Regions from separate parts of the Homo sapiens genome. Here region 2 is linked to region 1. Evidence: promoter capture Hi-C in human tissues and cell types (Jung and others, 2019). All regions are on one chromosome and are shown on one strand. The core of a region is centred on a gene start or on the middle of the fragment in contact, and the rest is flanking DNA. Distances in the headings are between cores, read along the strand shown. Region 1 holds the start of RFPL2 (ret finger protein like 2). Region 2 overlaps SYN3 (synapsin III).

Region 1 (5,995 bases), core at 1,434-3,933:
CATAGACAGATCCTGGATTGGGACACTGCAGTCTCTGGGAAGCCTAATTCAGCCACCTCCATCGGAGGCAAATCATGGTGCCACAGGCTCTAGCCTCCAGCCCGTGGCATGTAGCTCCTTCTCAGGGCACTGGGCATCCGGGCAGACAAAGCCAGAAAAGCCTAGAACAGGATGCAGAGTGGTAACATTAGAGCGCACCTTGTCATGCTGGCCACTGGGTGGCAGGGGCCGGTTTCAGCGAAGGTACTCACACCCACACTTCAAAGTCCAGCCTCTCCTTTTAGCGCAAGCTGGCCAGGAACTGCGGCCTGGAGTGGGGACTGCAGACACCACAGTGCCCGGGCTTCCCACTCCACAGGAACAGCTGCAGCCACCCTGGCTGCACTCCTCGGGAAGCAGGAGCAGCAGAAACTCAACCCCAGCCAGCCCTCCCCACCCAAGTGCCGGTTCCCGTTCCTGATGCCTCCTCCACCCACAGGGCCCTGTAGCCTCCTCGTGTCCACTACTGCGTGCCCCGGGGTCCCAGGCGGTCTCTGCAACACAGAGCAATAGGAGGCGGGTCCAGGAAGCACCACGGGGCTGGGGCCCCTGCCGCGCTCAGGAAATGCTGTGCGCCCGCCGCACTTGAGCAAGAACAGGAGGAGGTGGCCGGGAAGAGGAGGACCGCTCCTCTCTTGCAGACCACCGCTGTCACTGACACCTCCACCGCCCGCCACCGGCAGTGCAGTCCCAGATGGCGCCCCTAACTCATCCGTGCCTAGTACATGCAGCACCCAATGGCGCTGGCAGCCTGCCCCCTGCCACGGGCAGCGCAGCCCGGGATAACTCCCCAAACCCGCTCTGTGCTGTGGGCAGTGCAGCCACGGATACCACCCTCAACCAGCCCCTCGCCACAGGAAATGACTCCCGGGATAGCGCCCCAAATCAGCCCCCAGCCTCGGGCAGTGACGCCTGGAGTAGGTCACCCAACCCAACTCCTGCGCGGGCAGTGCAGCACCAGATAGCGCCCCTAAAACGCCTCCCGCCACCGGCGGTGTAGCCCAGGATAGCGCCGCCAACCCGGTACTCGCCGCGGCAGTGTAGCGATAGGGCACCCAATCTGCCACCCACCGCCGGCAGTGCAACCCCAGATAGCGCACCGAACTCACTCCCTGCTGGGCAGTGCAACCCCACATAGCATCCAACCCGCCTCCCCACCCAGCCACTGGCAGTCCGCCCCCGATAATGTCCCATACACGCTCCTGGCTGTGGGCAGTGCAGCCCATGGGTAGCGCCCCCAACCAGCCCCCAGCCATGGGGAGTGATGCCTCGGATAACACACCCAACAAGTTCCCCACCATGGCACTGATGTCCCAGGTAGCGCCCCCAATCCTTGCCCCTCAGCGACCAGTGCAGCCATGGATAGCGCCCTCAACAAGCCCCTCCACTGACCCCCGCCGCTGTGGGAAATGACGCCCGGGATAACGCACCCAACCCTCCCCCGCCATGAGCAATGCAACACGCACTACTGCTCCTTACACGCCCCCCACTACATGCGGTGTAGCCAACGATGGCGCCCCCATCTCCCCCTCGCCTCGGGCAGTGTAGCTCCCGATAGTGCATCCAACCCATTCCCTCTGCCCCTCTCCTCCCACCGAGTCAACCACCGCCGGCAGTCCAACCCCAAATAGCGCACCCAATCCACTCCCTGCCAGGCAGTGAAGCCCCCCGATAGCACCCAACCCGCACCCCCACCCCCGCCACTGGCAGTCCGCCCCGATAACGCCCCAACACGCTCCTGGCTGTAGGCAGTGTAGCCCATAGATAGAGCCCCCAACCAGCCCCCAGCCAAGGGCAGTGACGCCTCGGATATCACAGCCAACAAGTTCCCTGCCATGCGCACTGATGTCCCAGATAGCGCCCCCAACCCGTACCCCAGCGCGACCAGTGCAGCCACGGATAGCGCCCCCAGCAAGCCACCCCGCGGCTGCGGGAAATGACGTCCGGTAAAGCACCCAACCTTCCCGTGCTGTAGGCAGTGCAGCACCCAATACTGCCCCTAACACGCCTCCCACCACCGGGTTGTAGCCCACGATGGCGCCCTCAATCCGCCCCCGCTCCCACCTCGGGCAGTGCAGCTCCAGATCGTGCATCCAACCTGTCCCCCTCCCCGCCCCCTGCCGCAGGCAGTGAGCCCTGGATAGCTCATCCACCCCGCCACCTTTCTACATTCTGGCTGCGGTCTAGTCTCCCTCACCGCCACCAACGGCAGCGAGCCGAGCCATGCTGCTGCAGGCTTTCAAGCCTCCAGCGTGGGACAGGTGACTCCTCCTCTAACCTGGGCATGGAGCAGATGGGCTGGCAGACGCAGAAGTGCCTGGAATGGCAAGAACCCCTCCCCCCACAGACCGAGGTTATGCAAGTAAGGTTTCTGGACTACATGTTCAGATTGGATGAGAGAAAAACCTCTAGGTCTACTCTGATTGTGCTTTATTTTCACGTTCTGACTGGATGACAGCAAGTCTTAGGATAACCAATCAGAACAAGATAACAAAGCCCGATCAGAGTAGGCCTAGAGGTTTCTCTCATCCGATCAGACTATGTAGTCGAGAAACTTCATTTGCATTAAACTCAGTATATAAAGGATGCCAAGAGGGGTGGCTTGCCCTTCCAGGCTCATCTGCGTCGGCCTGCGTAGCTGCTCTGTGCCCGGCTTAGAGGAGAAGGAGGAGGAGCCACTTGCCGCGCATGCCAGAGGCTAGAGTCATCTACCGCGCATGCTGGAGGCTGGAGCCTACAGTGGCTCACCTCGCTGCTGCGGTTGGTGGCCGCGAGGGTGACTACAGCGCAGCCAGAATGGTGAAAAGGTGGCAGAATAGGTTCGTTATCCCAGGCCGTACTGCCTGTGGCGTGGGGGGCGGGTTGGGGGCCCTATCCAGGGCGTCACTGCCCGTGTTGGGGGGCTGCTTGAGTGTGGTACCTCGGGCGTCACTGCCCGCTGAGGGGAGTGGGGTGGGGGCGCTATCCGGGGGCGCTATCCAGCCTATGGCTGGAGATGGGTTGGGGCGCTATCCGAAGCTGTAATTCCTGCGGCAGTGGGGAGTTTTGGGGGCACTATCTGGGGATGCACTGCCCGCGGCCGGGGGGCGGGGGTGAGTTAGTAGAACTATCAGGTGCTGCAATGCCCTGATGCCCTTGTTGGGGACAGGTTGTGGGGGGCTGGTGGGTGCAACACTGCTGGTGGCGAGGGTGGGTGCTGCTATCCGGTGCTACTCTGCCTGTGGGGGACGGGGGCGGGCGTGATATCCAGGGCATCATTGCCTGCATCTGGGAGCTGGTTGGGGACACTATCCATGGCTGCACTGCCCACAGTGGGGAGCGGGTTGGGGGCACTATTTGGGGCTGCAATGCTGGTGGTGGGGGACGGGTTAGGGTCACTATAGGGTGCTACACTGCTGGCAGTGGGGAGGGGGTTGTTGAGGGCGCTCTCTGGGGGCTACACTGAGACAGGTAGCGGGGGGTTGTTGGGATTGGTACCGGGGCTGGACTGCCCATGGAGAGGGGGTGGGGGCGTTGGTTGGGGGCGCTATTGAGGGCCGGGTACACTGCCTGCGGTGGAGGGGTGGGTTGGGTGCTATCAGGGGTCTGTACTGCCTAGCAGGGAGCGGGTGGGTGTGCTATCTGGGGCTGCACTGGCTGCAGCAGGGGCAGGTTGGGTGCACTATAGGGGGCTACACTGCCCTTGGCAGGGGGTGGTTTAGGTGAGCTGTCTGTGGCCGCACTGCCCGAGGTGGGGAGTAAGTTTGGGTGCTATCTGTGGCTGCACTGCCTGGAGGCAGGAAGTGGGTTGAGGGTGCTATCCTGGGCTGCTTCTCCTGGTGGGGAGCAGGTAGGGGCACTATCCAGGGTTGCACTGCCCGGGGTAGGGGGCGATTTGGGTGCCATATCGGGGCATCACTGCCCACGGCAGGGGTCTGGTTGGGGTCGCTACCCATGGCTACACTGTCTACAGCCACTGCCTACGGCAGGGAGCGGGTTGGGGGCGCTATCCCGGGCTGCGCTGCCCAAGGCAGGGGGTGGGTTGCGGGTGCCATTGGTGCTGCAGTGTCCGAGGCAGGGGCGGGTTGGGGTTGCCATCTGGTGCTACACTGCCAGCTGTGGGGGAGGGTCGGGGGCGCTATCGGGGGCTGCACCGTCCCCCTGGTGGTGGGCAGCGGAGGTGTCAGTGACAGCGGTGGTCAGAGGAGGTGAGAGGGACTCCAGTCTCTAGAGGGCCATCTCCTTCTGCTCCTGGCCAGCACACAGCATTTCTGCGGGGATCCTGAGCACGGCCCGGCCCCTAGACCTGCTGTGGTTCCCAGGCGCGCGCCCTCTCACCATGTGTTGCTGAGACCGTCTGGGACCCCTGGGCACACAGTAGCGGACATCATGGAGTGACAGGGCCCTGTGGGTGGAGGTGTCAGGAAGAGGTACCGGCACTTGGGTGGGGAGGGCTGGCTGGGGTTGAGTTTCTGCTGCTTCTGCTTCCTGAGGAGCGCAGCCAGGGGTGGGCCCAGCGATTCGTGCCGAGTGGGAAGCCCGGACGCTGTACTGTGGTGTCTCCAGTCCCCACCCCAGGCCCCAGTTCCTGGTGAACTTGGGCCAAAAAGGGAGGCTGGGCTTTGGAGGGTAGGTGTGAGTGCCTTTGCTAAAACTGGCCCCTGCCACCTAGTGGCCAGCATGACAAGGTGAGACTCTAATGCTACCACTCTCTGCATCCTGTTCTAGGCTTATCTGACTTTGCCTGCCCAGTTGCTCCGTGCCAGGAGGAGGAGCCACTTATTCCATGCTGGAGGCTGGAGCTGGGGGCACCGCAGCTCACCTTGCTGTGGTTGGTGGTGGCGATGGAGACTACAGAGCACCAGAGCGGTAGGAGAGCAGCAATGGAGACTGCAGAGTGCCAGAGCAGTAGGAGGGCGGCTGGCTGCTGCCTGGGCAAGGGCAGGCCTGCTGTGGTATCCAGGTGGTAGGAGCCTTGTAGGGTGGACCAGTGGACTGAGGGCAACAGGAACAGTGGTTGTATTGGCATCAGTGCTAGTGGTGGCAGCAGCAGCAAGTCTGGAGGTTGGGAAGGCGGGTAGGAGCGCTCCAGGGCTGACCCGCCCGGCTGGGCCTGGCCTGGGGTGGGTAGGAAGCTGTGGGCCTCTGGGGCAGCGGTGGAGGCGCAGCCTGGGGAAGGAGGAGTCTCCTCCGCTTCTCCTGCAGAATCTGGAGGGCGCCCTCCTCCTGGTAGGTCCTGAGCCAGGCGTGAGTGGCAGCATTGTGTCATTATTAACAAAGTTTGGGTAGTGACTATTTGTGTATCTTTTTGCTTGTTTTTTGTTGGGATAGTCTTGGGCTTTTTTAAATTTCATGAATCAGGGAGGGGACAAAAGCTGTAATAGGACTCCTGATTCCCTTGTCTGTTCTTTTTCTTTTCTTCTCCTTATCATCATTTTCTTGTTCCTCTTCATTTTCTTATGCTGCTGCTTCTATTTCTTGTAGCATGTGGAGGAGGGAGTGGGAGATAGAGACCAGGCCCTCTCTAGAAACAGTCACATCCTGGAGGAACGGTGATGTATTTTCTGATGAGGATTTTCATTCATGAGATGTGTGCAGAGTGACCCTGGCTAGGTGCCCAAAAGCCTCCTTGTCTATGGTGTGACTCCAGGCCCAGGAGGCAACCCCGTTTTTGTAGAAGAGCCTGTCCTGGAAGCATCTGTCCTGAGAGCACCTGATGGCACAGTAGGGAGCTGAGAGCAACTGAGTCAGGAGGGACAATGGCCAGCCCCTCCCAGGATTCCTGCCTTGGGCAGATGCTGGCCCACTGACTTACAGCCCAGGGGCTGACAGGGGTGTCTTGTCCAAGCCACTGTGGGCAGGTGTTGCCTAGGCAGTGTGGTGTTGGATGACACCGAAGCTGCTGCACAGCCTGGGGTATTCATCTCTGGCAGACTGAGGGCCAGGTACTGCACATCCTGAGGTGTTCATCCCTGCC
Region 2 (5,995 bases), core at 883-3,382, 320 kb after region 1:
AACCGTATAAATACCTAACCATAAGGAAGTAATTAGGAACATTAAGATACATCTGTATAATGGAATATGCTGTGGTCATCACATAGGATGTGGCTGAGTAATACTAAATGACACAGGATACTGTTGATAACATATGCTAAATATTATACTGCTGAACAAAATAGCTTAGAATACAGTACTTATGGTTTTATTTTGGCACATATGTAAAAACATATATAAAAAAGCAAGACTGGAAGACTGTACACTAAAACCAGTGTGCCTCAGACTTTAATGTGCATATGAATCACTGGGGATCTGGTCAAAATAAAGATTCTGATAGAGTGAGTCTCGGGCTGCGTTACGGACTGAATTGTGTTCACCCTGTCCCAATTCATATGTTGAAACCTTAACCCTAACCCTCAATGCAATTCTATTTGGAGATAGGATCTTTAAAGAGGTAATTAAAGTTAAATGAGGTGATACGGTGGGGCCCTAATCTGATAGGCCTGGTGTCCTTATAAGAGGAGAAAGAAATATCAGGAGTGTCATGTACCCAGGTACAGAAGAAAGGACACACGAGGATACACAAAGAAGGCTGCCATCTGCAGGCCAAGGAGAGAAGCTGTACCAGAAACCAACCCTGCTAGCACCTTGATCTTGTACCTGCAGCCTCCAGAACTGTGAAAAAAACATCTGTTGTTTAAGGCCCCCCCAGTCTATGGCATTTTGTTATCAAGGCAGCCTGAGAAAACTAATATAGGCAGGATCTGCGATTCTGCATTTCTAACGGGTTCCCAGCTTATCCTACGTTGAGTAATGAGACACTAAATAATCATTACAAAAGTGGTGAGATTAAGAAGGATTTTAATTCTCTTTTTTTTTTTCTCACGGGTATTTTCCACACTGAAGATGTATTTCTTTGGAAACAACGACAAGAATTAACTCTTACTTTTTGAGTTGCTCTCTAAACTTTTCCAAGAACTTTCAAAAGCAACATATCACTTGACCTAGAGAGGTCAGTAGGGAAGATACCATTCTTCTCACCACATAGAGGTGGAGACTGAGTCTTATTAAGGTTTCCCAGTTGGAAGAGGAGCCACAGAAAGCTCAAAGAGAATCTTGGTTTCTCCCTCTCACCGTACAGGGCACACAGGCTTCCACAAGCAAGCCAAGAGGCATCTAAGCTTGGGGATGTTGTAGCCACCCAGAAATGACTTTGAGTAGAATTCCAAGGCCCCCAACAATCAAGGTGCACTCTCCTAACCCTCAAATTCTGGGTGTCAGGGCTGTTGATGGTGAATTGCATTTTGCCAAAGCCGACTGGCTGCCCGTAGGTCTCTTCTCCCTACGACATGCTGCTGCTGGGAGAGTGGGGTTATTCTTGCCACGTTTTTTTGAGAGCACCGTAGGCACGTTAGGAGACTGAAAACTAAAAGGTGCTGGAACCCATCTCTGTGACTCTGTAACAATGGGGCTTCTACTGAGCACCTATTATGTCACCAGCTTTGGACTGGGCACAACAGCTCTGTGGGTTAGGCATTATTTTCATCCCCTACCCCCAGCCATGGGAGTGCTGTCCCTGGAACTCTAGAGAGAGCCACATGTATAATTACACATTTTCTAGTAGGCACATTTTAAAAAGTAAAAAGAAATAGGTGAACATAATTTTAATAGTGTGTGTGTGCGTGTATATAGGTATGTATGTATATATATAATTTTTAATTAAAGAGATGGGGTCTCTGTCACCCAGGGTAGAGTGCAGTGGCATGGTCACACCGCAGCAGTGAACCCCTGGGCTGAAGCCACCCTCCTGCCTCAGTCTCTAGAGTAGCTGGGACTACAGGCCCAACACCACTTTTTCTTTCTGCCTTTTTTTTTTTGTAGAGATGGGGTGTCGCTGTGTTGCCCAGGCTGGTCTTGAACTCCTGGCCTCAAGCAATTCTCCCACCTTAGCCTCCCAAAGTGCTGGGATTACAGGTGTGAGCCACTGTGCTTGGCCCCATTTTTACAGAGAAACTGAGACCCAGATATATTGTGACTTGCTTAAGATGTCACTACGAATAAGGGGACACGCCGAGATTCAAACCTAGATCTCTTTGACTCAAAAACCCTGTTTTATTACTTTTTCCTTTATGAAAACTACACCACGCAGGCTCGCCTGAGTCCTCATAACATCTTTATTGCTAATTAAGAAAAGGCGGCTTCCTTCAGCTGAAGCAGCTCTGAGCCAGATGCCAAAGGGGCAAGGACTAGATTTCAGCCAGCCTCCCTTACCAGATGTCACGTCAGCTGAGCACATTTTCAGAGGACATGCCACCTGTATAACCTCCATGACCTGTGGAGTCTGGTGGCCCTGACTCCACACTGGCACCAGGAGCCTCAGGTCCTGACTCAAGCCTTGCCATTAACTCGCTGTGTGACCGTGGGTAAGTCACTCCCCTTCTCTGGGCTTCTGGGCCCTCATTTGTAAAATAAGGTCATTGGACTGAACATCAAACATCCCTCCCGATCTGAACATTTTTGTGAGCTTGTGGAACACTAAATTGGATTAAATTGCAGCATCAGTTTAGCATCTGATTATATTACATGGCTTTGATTCATTACCTCTTTCATGATTGTATAGGCGAGTAGATGGGAGGTCACATTTATCTCAAACACCTCTAGGGCCAACCAGGTATGTAAATAAATAAAGCAGGCAAATATAAGAAAAGTAATGAGGCTTTCAAAAATTTGCCCACTTGAGATAAAAACAGTCCAGAGAACTATTTCTCTGAAGAGGTGCAAGCATAAAGAACATAGCAATTGCCCCTCTCTGTCACTATGGAAGTGAGGAGTAGGGCTGGAGGCAAACGCAGGAGCCCCTAGGAGCCCTTGCTCTGATCAAGGAAGCCGCTGTTAGTAACGCCAGGGACAGTTGCTGTATAGAAACACAGGCCCATTGTTTCTAGAGCTTCTGTGCTATCAAGAGATGCTGGAAATCTAGATGTTTAAGCAACACCTCTTGATTTTTTTTTTTTTTTTTTTTGAGACGGAGTCTTGCACTATTATCCGGGCTAGAGTGCAGTGGCGCGATCTCGGCTCACTGCAACCTCCTCTGTCTCCTGGGTTAAGAGATTCTCCTGCCTCAGCCTCTCAAATAGCTGGGATTACAGGCGTCCGCCACCACGCCCAGCTAATTTTTTGTATTTTTAGTAGAGACAGGGTTTCCCCATATTGGCCAGGCTGGTCTCGAACTCCTGACCTTGTGATTCGCCCACCTCAGCCTCCCAAAGTGCTGGGATTACAGGTGTGAGTCACCGCGCCCAGCTCACCTCCTGATTTTTAAATGTTGGTTACTTTTGGGTTTTCTAAACCCACCGCAGTTCAAATAAAACATTTGTTTTCTACTTTTATCTTCAGTTTCCCCTGATTCGCCTCCCTTCCCAGGTTGATATCTTAGAAAATGTGAATACCCATTCATTAATTCAGTAACTCTTTGTTGAGTCCCTATCATATACCTGGGATTTATCAAGAGAGACACCCTAGTTACTGGATTCAGAGACCAGAGTGCTAACCATTACCACTGCCCTAGTTATTTCTTTCGGCTTCTTGGCAAAGCAAACAATTTAGTATTTTTCATATGAGCACATACACAAAATATTAACATATATAGAAAGTATTTGCCTAAGCACAGACATGAAGCTTATTAAAAGAAAATTTCACTTTTACTGAGTTGAAATGAACAGCAAGTTCAAAATAATAATGTGATTTGTTAATTGGGGAACTCAATGAAAGCGTTGTTTTTCATTAGCCTTGTTATTTTTAATCTGAGCGTTAATTCACTGGGCATTTTCTTTAATTACCTTAATTGGTTTTAAATTGATTGTTTTTCAACTCACTAAAAGTGTGTTTAGCCTCATTTCCCTTAAAATAATATCTCTTTATCAAGCATGTTTTACTCTGGGCCAGAGAGGAAATCAGAATACAGTAGCTCTCTGTTTTAAAACGGCTCTGTTCAAATGTGCTTTTAAAAAGCAGGTCCCAGGGCAGAGGGGAAAGGAGGGTGTGGGGCAGAGGCACAGCCAGGAGCCTGGTAGAGTGAGGAATATGTAGTTTCGGAACACTTATTACTATAGAATTCTTGCTGGGTAACGGGGCACTGCATTAGTTACAAGGATTGTTAATAATAAACATGAAAAGCAATATGTATAAGACACACGTTATTAATAGTAAGCATTATGTCATAGTTATTCGTAGTAAATTATTAGTAGTAAGAACTGACACCTTCTACGCACTATCTCTGTGTCTGATGCCTTGCTAATTGCTTCACCTGCATTTATCTCATGGACAAGCACCCCATCCTTAAACATGGAAGCTGTTATTTCCTCCTTTACACTGAGGAAACTGAGGCCCCGAGAAGTAATATGACTTGCCTAACACTGCAAAGGCAGTGAGATACGGAACTGGATTCAAACACACTAGATCTGCCTGAAGGAGAATACTAATGTGTATTTTATACAGGCATACCTTGTTTTATTGTGGTCCATTTTATTTCAGTTTGCAGATACTGTGTTTTTTCTAAATTGGAGGGTTGTGACGACCTTGCATTGAGCAAGTCTGTCAATGCTGTCCTTCCAACAGCATGTACTCATGTGGTGTCTGTGCCTCACATTTGACAATTGTCACAAATTTCAAACTTTTAAATTATTATTATATCTGTTATGGTGATCCGTAATCAGTGATCTTTGATACTACTATTGTATTAATAATTGTTTTTGGGTGCCATGAACCACACCCATATAAGACAGTGAACTGGCCGGGCGTGGTGGCTCATGCCTGTAATCCCAGCACTTTGGGAGGCCAAGGCAGGCGGATCACAAGGTCAGCAGATCGAGACCATCATGGCCAACATGGTGACGTCCCTTCTCTACTGAAAATACAAAAAAATTAGCTGGGTGTGGTGGCATGCACCTGCAGTCCCAGCTACCCGGGAGGCTGAGGCAGGAGAATCGCTTGAGCCCAGGAGGCAGAGGTTGCAGTGAGCTGAGATTGTGCAACTGTACTCCAGCCTGGGCAAAAGAGCTAGACTCCATCTCAAAAAACAAACAAACAAACAAACAAAAAAAGACAGTGAACTTACTTGATAAATGTGTGTGTTCTGGCTGCCCCATTTACCAGCCATTTCCCTATCTCTCTTCCTGTCCTTGGGCCTCCCTTTCCCCTAGACACAACAATATTGAAATTGGACCAGTTAAGAACCCAATAATGGCCTCTAAATATTCAAGTGAAAGGGAAAGTCACACATCTCTTACTTTTAAATAAAAAAACTAGAAATGATTAAGCTTAGTGAGGAGGGCATGTTGAAAGCCAAGACAAGCTGAAAATTAGGCCTCTTGCACCAGAAAGTTAGCTAAGTTGTGAATGTGAAGGAAAAGTTCTTGAAAGAAATTAAATGTGCCACTCCAGTGAACACACAAATGATAAGAAATCAAAACAGCCTCATTGCTGATACGGAAAAATTTGAGTGGTCTGGAAAGAAGATCAAACCAGACGCAACATTGCCTTAAGCCAAAGCCTAATCCAGAGCAAGGCCCTAACTACTTTCAATCCTATGAAGGCTGAGAGAGGTGAGAAAGCTAAAGAAGAAAAGTTGGAAGCTAGCAGAGGTTGGTGGGTGAAGTCTCAGGAAAGAAGCCATCTCCATAACAAAAACTGCAAGGTGAAGCTGCAAGTGCTGACGAAGAAGCTGCAGCAAGTTATCCAGAAGAACTAGCTTAGATTATTGATGAAAGTGGCTGTGCTAAACAACAGATTTTCAGTGTAGATGGAACAGCCTTCTATTGGAAGAAGATACTATCTAGGGCTTTCATAGCTAAAGAGGAGAAGTCAATGCCTGGCTTCAAAGCTTCAAAGGATAGGCTGACTCTCTTGTTGGGGCTAGTGCAGCCGGTGACTTAGAGTTGAAGCCAGTGCTCATTAACCATTCTGGAAATCCTAGGGCCCTTAAGAATGATGCTAAATCTACTCTGCCTGTGCT

What was found. The method cuts DNA at HindIII sites, captures the fragments that hold promoters and counts their contacts. A contact is called where the count stands out against the background at its distance.
Region 2: a contact is called between a fragment that was not itself captured here and the fragment with the promoter of RFPL2 in region 1, in 2 of the 25 tissues and cell types used here (dorsolateral prefrontal cortex and lymphoblastoid cells).

The regions. Positions count from the first base shown.
Region 1 is chr22:32,202,390-32,208,384 of GRCh38, forward strand. RFPL2 (ret finger protein like 2) reads right to left here and starts at 2,684. Exons shown (of 5, transcript NM_001394555.1): 1 at 2,318-2,684; 2 at 1-161. The coding sequence starts at 62. SLC5A4-AS1 (SLC5A4 antisense RNA 1) reads left to right here and starts at 2,726. Exons shown (of 4, transcript NR_149072.1): 1 at 2,726-2,858; 2 at 4,747-4,887. RefSeq lists an enhancer at 4,128-4,858. The HindIII fragment of the contact is 14,140 bases long and covers 1-5,995 here.
Region 2 is chr22:32,518,459-32,524,453 of GRCh38, forward strand. All of the region lies in intron 12 of SYN3 (synapsin III), which reads right to left. Among named protein-coding and RNA genes, the nearest start is that of FBXO7, 47 kb to the left of the region's middle. The HindIII fragment of the contact is 4,695 bases long and covers 1-4,480 here.